Regions from separate parts of the Homo sapiens genome. Here region 2 is linked to region 1. Evidence: promoter capture Hi-C in human tissues and cell types (Jung and others, 2019). All regions are on one chromosome and are shown on one strand. Each heading gives the region's core, a stretch centred on a gene start or on the middle of the fragment in contact. The rest is flanking DNA. Distances are from core to core; before and after follow the strand shown.

Region 1 (4,095 bases), core at 842-3,341:
GAGAATTGCTTGAACCCAAGAGGCAGAGGTTGCAGTGAGCAGAGATCTCGCCCTGCACCCCAGCCTGGGAGATAAGAGTGAAACTCCATCTCAAAAATAAATAAATAAATAAATACATAAATACATAAATAAATAAATAAAAATAAAAAAGTGAAATGCTGGCCCAACCCTGTCTCTCCTCTGCCTGCAGCCCTCCATGGCTCCCACCTCCCTCCAGGTAAAAGCGCAAGTTCTCCCCACGGTCCACAAGGCCCTGCACCTCCCTGTGCTCTCCTCCTTCCTCCCTCCCCCTCCTCACTCTGCTGCAGCCACGTGGGCCTCCTCACTGTTCTTCCAACTCACCAGGTGCAGTCCTTCCTTGGGGCCTTCGTACGGGCTGTGCCCTCTGCCTGGAACTCTCTTCCCCTCAGATAGCTGGGACTACAGAAGCATGCCACTACGCCTGGCTAATTTATTTTTATTTTTATTTTTGTAGAGCTGGGGGCCTCGCTATATTGCCCAGGCCGGTCTTGAACTCCTGGCCTCAAGCAAGCCCCCCCCCCCCCCCCAACCCCGCCACCTCGGCCTCCCAAAGTGCTGGGATTTGCAGGTGTGAGCCACCACACCAGGCCCCTCTTTTCTTTATAAATTGCCCATCTTCAGGTATTACTTTATGGCAATGCAAAATGGGCAAATAAAATTAGTATCCGGAGTATGAAAAGAACTCTGGATTTAAAAGACAAATGTAAACAACCCAGTGTTTTATGATGAAAAATGTAAACAGGCAGTTCACAAAAAAGGAGCCTGGAAAGGGCTACAAATCCTGGACAAGATGCTCAGTAGCTTTGGTCATCAGGGAACTGCACGTTAAAAATCACACGATCGGCCGGGTGCGGAGGCTCACACCTGTGATCCCAGCACTTTGGGAGGCCGTGGCAGGTGGATCACTTGAGCTCAGGAGTTCTCTACAGAGGACTTGTAAGTTACTAGTAATATTCGATTTCACGAAGTGAAAAGGGCACACAGATATTTATCGTTATTCATTAAATCGTACAGATATGCTTTGTGTTATTTTATATGCATTATATGTTTCACAATTTTAAAAGGCCATGTAGGGTTCAGATGTGGTGACTCACACCTGTAATCCCAGCACTTTGGGAGGCTGAGTCGGGTGGATCGCTTGAGGCCAGGAGTTCGAGACCAGCCTGGCTGGCATGGTGAAACCCCATCTCTACTAAAAATACAAAAATTAGCTGGGCATGGTGGCGCGTGCCTATAATCCCAGCACTTTGAGAGGTCGAGGCGGGTGGATCACCTGAGGTCAGAAGTTCAAGACCAGCCTGGCTGGTATGGCGAAACCCCATCTCTACTAAAAATATAAAAATTAGGCCGAGTATGGCGGCTCACGCCTGTAATCCCAGCACTTTGGGAGGCCAAGGCGGGTGGATCACGAGGTCAGGAGATTGAGACTATCCTGGCTAATGTGGTGAAACCCCATCTCTACTAAAAAATACAAAAAATTAGCCGGGCATGGTGGCAGGCACCTGTAGTCCCAGCTACTCAGGAGGCTGAGGCAGGAGAATGGTGTGAACCTGGGAGGCGAAGCTTGCAGTGAGCCGAGATTGCGCCTGGGCAACAGAGCAAGACTCTGTCTCAAAAAAAAAAAAAAAATTAGCTGGACATGGTGGCAGGCGCCTGTAATCTCAGCTACTTGGGAGGTTGAGGTGGGAGTATCACTTGAGCCTGGGAGGCAGAGGTTGCAGTGAGCTGAGATCGTGCCACTGCACTATAGCCTGGGCAAAAGAGTGAGACCCTGTCTCAAAAAAAAAAGAAAAGAAAACGCATGCCCTTCTCCCATACCACTGGCACCTGTCACTCTTCAAGAGGTGTGGTTCTGGCCATCTGGCAAGGCACCTGGAGCTGGGACATCTGGTCACTCAGGTGTTTTCTTCTTCCTGCAAAGACAGTCAACAGGTAGCCCCTCCTGGAAACCTGAACATGAGCTGCCCCTTCCCAGCCCCCGTCACCCTCTCCGTCCAGCCAGGATGATGGTGGTGGTGGGAGGCAGGAGGATGGGTGGTTTCCCTCCACAACAGGCCTTCTACCCCATTCAACCTTCCAGAACGTTCCATCCCAGCCACCTCTTGTGACATCACTGGCTGCCCCTGCCTCCGCACCCCACCCCCACCCCTAGGGGAAGCTGCTTCCAGGACAGGGAGATTGCTCTTTTCATGCATCATTCATTTATTCATGCATGCATGCACTTCTGCGTTGCATTCGTGACGTTTTTATGAAGCCATGACCCTAATGGCAGGGATTGTGCTGGATGCTGGAGACATAAAGATGAACAAAGCCAGATGAGGCCTGTTCAAGAAAATAAGAGGAGGCCTAGAATCACACAAACAAATGCAAACTTACCATTGTGAAGAGAGCCCCAAGGCATGTTGAGGGCTTGATCAAAGGATCCCGCCCAGGCAGGGAGTCTGGGAGTGGTTTCTTTCTTTTCTTTCGTTTTTTGAGACGGGAGTCTTGCTCTGTCACCCAGGCTGGAGTGCAATGGTGCGATCTCAGTTCACTGCAACGTCTGCCTCCCAGGTTCAAGCGATTCTCCTGCCTCAGCCTCCCGAGTAGCTGGGATTACAGGCGCCCGCCACCACGCCCGGCTAATCTTTTGTATTTTTAGTACAGACGGGGTTTCGCCATGTTGGCCAGGCTGGTCTCAAACTCCTGACCTTGTGATCCGCCCGCCTTGGCCTCCCAAAGTGCTGAGATGACAGGCGTGAGCCACCGCGCCTGGCCTGGGAGTGGTTTCTTGAGCTGGGATCTGAAGTATGCCTGGATGTTATTCCTGCCCTCGTGACTTTCTCTTACGCTGCCTGTCTTCATGTGTTTACAGCGGCCTCCCCCTTCTCGTTCTCTGCTTTAGTCACTGCTAACAATGTCCACTACCAGGCACAGTGGCTTGTGCCTGGAATCCCAGCACTTTGGGAGGCCAAGTCCGTAGCATCACTTGAGGCCAGGAGTTCAAAACCAGCCTGGGCAATGTAGTAAGACCCCGTCTCTACAGAAAAATTTAAAAAATTAGCCGGGCGTGGTGGTGCGCAAGTGTAACCACAGCTAGTAGGGAGGCTGAGGTGGGGGGATTGTTTGAGCCCAGGAGTTCCAGGCTGCAGTGAGCTGTGATGGTACCATGGCACTCCAGCCAGGCCTACAGAGCAAGACCTTGTCTCAAAACAAAAAAGACAAAACAGTGCCAGGTGCAGCACATACTAGATGCTCAGTAAATAAAGATGTAGCAACAGAATCTTGTGCTGTGCCAGGAGAAAAGGACAAGGAGTGTTCCTTTGTCTCCAGGGCCTTTTGTGTGTGTGTGTGAGAGAGAGAGAGAGACGGAGTTTGGCTCTTGTTGCCCAGACTGGAGTGCAATAGCGTGATCTTGGCTCACTGCAACCTCTGCCTCCCGGGTTCAAGCGATTCTCCTGCCTCAGCCTCCCAAGTAGCTGAGGTTACAGGCATGCACCACCACTCCCGACTAATTTTCTGTATTTTTAGTAGAGATGGGTTTTCACCATGTTGGCCAGGCTGGTCTCCACCTCGTGGCCTCAGGTGATCCACCCGCCTCAACCTTCCATGGTGCTGGGATTACAGGTGTAGCCACCGCACCTGGCCACCAGGGCCTTCTTAATGTTTCACAAATATCTACTCTGCAGAGCACCTGGGCAGCTGTGCCAGGACAGCCAGTGTCCACCAATGTCCATTCAGCCCTTCTTCCCCAGAGCTCTCACCTAAAGAGAGAGAATGTTTCCCAGGCCCCCTGACTGCATGGCGTGTCCATGTGACTACATCCTGCCCTGTGGGATGTGGGCATAAGTGGTGGGGGCCATGCCTGGTCATGCCTATAAAGGAAAGGAGGTGACACCCTTCCCCAACCCCCCATCCAGTAGAATCCTGGGATCAGGAGCAGCCTCCTTGGACAGGGGTGAAGCTGGAGGGGAGGGAGCAGGTCAAGAGGTCCCCAACAGGAGGGAAGGGACCTCTGTCTCTAAAGACAGTTGAGCCACTTTGCTGGTGCCAGACAGATTTATGCAAGTTGCACACACGCTCGCTCGCTCGCTC
Region 2 (4,095 bases), core at 731-3,230, 170 kb after region 1:
CTCCAGACACTGTCCAGTGTCCCCTTAATGTCAGAATTGCCCCCACTTGAGAACCATTGGGTTATGGGATTTCATTGACACCCAAGAGACTTTGTGTTCCATAGTTATCTAACCTACTGAGGTCGTAGGAGCCTGTACACATTTAAAGCCACAGTCTGAGTGGGGAGGGAGAGAGGCGGTGAATCCCAGAAGCCAGGGTGGGGGGTCACCCTGGTTTGTGCCATCTAATCTATTGGGGATTTATTTTGGTGTATAATGTGAGTTAGAGATCCAGCTCAATTTTTTTGCCCAAGATTAATGCAAGGTTTCTTGCCCTCAGCTCAGTTGACATTTGGACTTGGGTCACTTGCTGGTAGGGCACTGTTCTGAGCCTCCTAGGATGTTGGTCAGCATCCCTGGTCTCCATCCACTAGATGTCTGTAACAGTTTCCTCCACACCCCCACAAACATGACAGTCACAATGTCTCCAGATTTTGACCAGTGTCTCCAGGGAGATGAAGTTACTCCTGGGTGAGAACCACTGGTCATAGGATCAAAGGAACCTACCCAGGAATAAATTAATTGCCAGCTAGAGTTTAAGGCCCTTCCTCCCAACCTTATTTTTCTATTCTGGCCTTTTGGCAGCTGAGTAGGCCTCAATGGACATCATATCCCTCTTCAGGAAGAACAGTCTTTTCCTTGACCTTTAACACTGCCTCTGGTCCAGGGTGAGGACCTGACAGAATGTAAGGGCTGGGAAGAACCTTCAGGGATGCCTGAGTCCTGGCTGCACCATTTCACAGGGGCTGAAGCCCGAGGCCATGGAAGCAGGTAGGGCTGGCTAGGGCCAGTGCGCCTGTCTCCAGCCATGGAGTCTAGGAGTTCATGCTTGTCCTTCCCGGTGAGTCAGTAAACTCTAGGTAATGGGCACTCGTTCACCCCTGAAAACTGACCCGCGTAGGGCACTGCATTTCGCTGTCGCTGTTTATGGTGTTCAAAGAAAGGGAGGAAATTCTAGAGACAGTAGTAGTTACTCCATACACATGTTTAGAAGGCAGGCCTTGCCTTTTGCAGTAAGTTTAAAATGCCTTTGCTAAATTAAACTCCCCCAGGTTTGCCACAGAGAATTTTGGGAACTTATTTACCCAGAATTAATTCCTGCGTTGCATCTGTGAGAGCAGAGCGTGAGTGGAAACGGTCCTTGAGAACTTGCCTTTCTCTGGGGGAGAGGGTGAGAAAACAGGCAGTTACCCTCTGCTCAGAGGAGAGAGGATGTTTTGCAGCATTGATGGTGATGGCCACTGGGTCCTAAGAGTCCAGAGCCTGGGCCCCAACCTTTACACTGGATAAATCCAGATTTGTCAGCATGGCCTGCAAGGCTGAACGTCCTGTGGGCTCCACCCAGCCCTTCCCGTTCTCCTCCCCTCCAAACATGGGCCTCCAGGCTCTTCCTTTCCTTAGAACCTTTGACTTGGGGTCCCCTCTGCCTGGGATCCCCTGCCTTCACCTGGCTCATCCCTGCTCACCCTTCATGTGTGAGCTTCAGCGAGGCCTTACCCATTCACTCACTCTCTCCCACCATCCTGTGGTATTTTCTCTGCAGCACCCAGCTCCAGAACTACCCAGTTATCTCTGCACACAGCAGGTACTTGTTTGTTTTCTCTTTCCCAGTAGAGAGCTGCGGCCTTGTCTGCCATTTCTTTCCTGTCTCCAGTGGCAAGCTCGGTGCCTAGCACAAGTCTGTGCTTGGTAGATCCTGCTGGTGAGAGCAAGGCTTGGCTGCTCGGCTCGGCCTGCCTTCAGATCCCACCTGTTTCCTGTGACCTCAGAAGGGCTCAGGCATTCCGAGCACCTGAGCGTTTGCCTTGAGTGTCCCAGGCGTCCAGGCAGCTCTTGGATCCAACCATTCCACCCCCTAAAAGGGGTCAGACTCTGACGCATTTGTCGTTGCCGGGCACTGGCAGCTGTCCTTGAATCCAAGGCCTATGCTTTAAGGTGGCATCAATATGTTTGCAATCTTCCGAGCATAATAATGCTACCAGTGCCAGTGTGGAATCATCCTGTGTGCCAACCACTTCCCCAAACACGGCATGTGCAGCATTTCATTTCATCCTTGCCGAAGCTGCCTGGGGTGAAATAACAGCCCTGATATGCAAATGAAGACATTGTGCCAGAGGTACATTGTCTTATCTGGGATCCCAACCGCAAGTAAGTGGCCAGGGCAGGTTTGAACACACACAAAGACCAGAGCCCGCGCTCTCCAGTATCATCAGTTTTGCTCTGCTGCCTCAGCATAAATTCTGTAGTTCTTGGATTTCCTTCCTGTAAGCTTCCGTGTAGAGAGGAGGGGATTCCTGTTGTCTCTACTGGAACTTTCCCGAGTCTTCAGCCACTTGCATGTTGCCTCAGCTGTGTTGGTGTCACACCACCTAGTGGCGGAACAGAAAAGTGCCGTTAAAGCTGGATCCTCCATCTCTCCACGCAGTTTTTTCTTTTTTCTTTCTTTTCTTTTTTTTTGGAGACAGAGTCTCACTCTGTCGCCCAGGCTGGAGTGCAGTGGTGCTATCTCAGCTCACTGCAACCTCCACCTCCTGGGTTCAAGTGATGCTTGGGTCTCAGCCTCCCGAGTAGCTGGGATTACATATCCCACCAGGCCCAGCTAATTTTTGTATTTTGGGTAGAGACACGATTTCACCATGTTGCCCAGGCTGGTCTCAAACTCCTTTCCTCAAGTGATCCACATGCCTCGGCCTCCCAACGTGCTGGGATTACAGGCATGAGCCACTGAACCCAGCCATCCATACAGTTGTAGGCAGAGTTGCTGACTTTGTATAACTTTATGGGGTTTCTGTTCAGAAGTGCAAGTTCTGCCCCCCGGGGCTTACGGTCTGGGTGGCGCAGGAGTGGAAGCTTAGAAGGGTTTGGCTGCAGGGCTGATAAAGGTAGAAATAAAGAAGGCAGAATGTGGCTTGGCCCTCATGGGGTGGAGTGGGATATGAGGAGGATGTCATGGGGATGCGTCTATGATGAATGAGACTAGATATGTAAAGTACCTACCTCGGAGTCCAGTAAAGGCCTTTTAACAAATGCCTGTTGCCCCTGCAATGCTTGTTGGAAGTGTAAGTATCTGGTGGTGAGATGAGAGTGGTTGGAAGTTGGCTTGGAGTTCGGTAGTTGAAGGTAATGCCAAGATGATGAGCATTCCAGAAAGAAGTACATAAAATGTAGGATATCATCAGCTCCAAAAAGTGTGTCCCCATAATCTCCATGAGACCAGTTGAAAGTTATAGAAATATATTCGAGTATTGAGAAAAGAACGGAGTCATCCAGGGTCCCACCGCCTTCCACTAGCTGGGCTGGAGAACCCGAGCATGCTATACACGGAGATCCGCAGAGGCATCACCTAGCAACTGCATGTTTGAGATCAGTTCCATTCCGTACCAAAGAATCAGTTGGAGGACAGACCTGACACGTCAGTGACAGATTTACCTTTGTGCTGTGGCACAGAACTGTTTATAATAATTTCTGAAAAAATAAATGACTTGAAGGGTTGTGATCGTGTCACCAGATTACAGGAGTTGCCACATTTTAATAGACTGTTATTTGTGTTGGCGAGATGCTTTCCATATTTTTTTCACAGGTAAGAAGATTAAGACATATCAGCCCAGGATTAAAGCTAATTTTATGCAAGTACCTTGCTGACAGTTTGGTCAGGAGTTCTCAATTGCTTTCTAGATGAGGGCATTTTCTTGGCAGGTATTGGAGTCATCAGTCAGGAGGCGAATAAACAGAAAAAGCAAAGATATTCCAGATTCTCTCTTATATGTGTTTTCCCAGGCCTACGTAGTTTCTTCTATTTAGTTTTAGCGGGAGATCCTCCATGACAGGCTGGAGACAGCCATGGGCTGGTGGGGAAGCAAAGCTTACTGTAAGGCAGGGCTGCCCTTGCTTCTTTGTAAATTATTCTCTGCAGCAGTGAGGAAAGAAAGTTTATACGGAAGAGGAGAGAGGCGGAGGCGAGAGTGTGTGTGTTGTCAGCTTAGATTCTGAATATATTACGCAAAGCATTCCAGGGCCGAACATTTGACAGATGAAGACAGAAAGCAGCTTGTGTCA

What was found. The method cuts DNA at HindIII sites, captures the fragments that hold promoters and counts their contacts. A contact is called where the count stands out against the background at its distance.
Region 2: a contact is called between a fragment that was not itself captured here and the fragment with the promoter of ACSBG2 in region 1, in 2 of the 25 tissues and cell types used here (lymphoblastoid cells and pancreas).

Annotation. Positions count from the first base shown.
Region 1 is chr19:6,133,663-6,137,757 of GRCh38, reverse strand. It overlaps ACSBG2 (acyl-CoA synthetase bubblegum family member 2), which reads right to left and starts at 2,091. Exons shown (of 15, transcript NM_030924.5): 1 at 1,849-2,091. All of the region lies in intron 3 of LOC105372255 (a long non-coding RNA gene), which reads left to right. RefSeq lists enhancers at 1,321-2,223, 2,224-3,127. The HindIII fragment of the contact is 13,898 bases long and covers 483-4,095 here.
Region 2 is chr19:5,966,419-5,970,513 of GRCh38, reverse strand. The region is part of intron 1 of RANBP3 (RAN binding protein 3); the gene reads left to right. Among named protein-coding and RNA genes, the nearest start is that of RANBP3, 9.7 kb to the left of the region's middle. RefSeq lists an enhancer at 2,242-2,536. The HindIII fragment of the contact is 6,212 bases long and covers 1-4,095 here.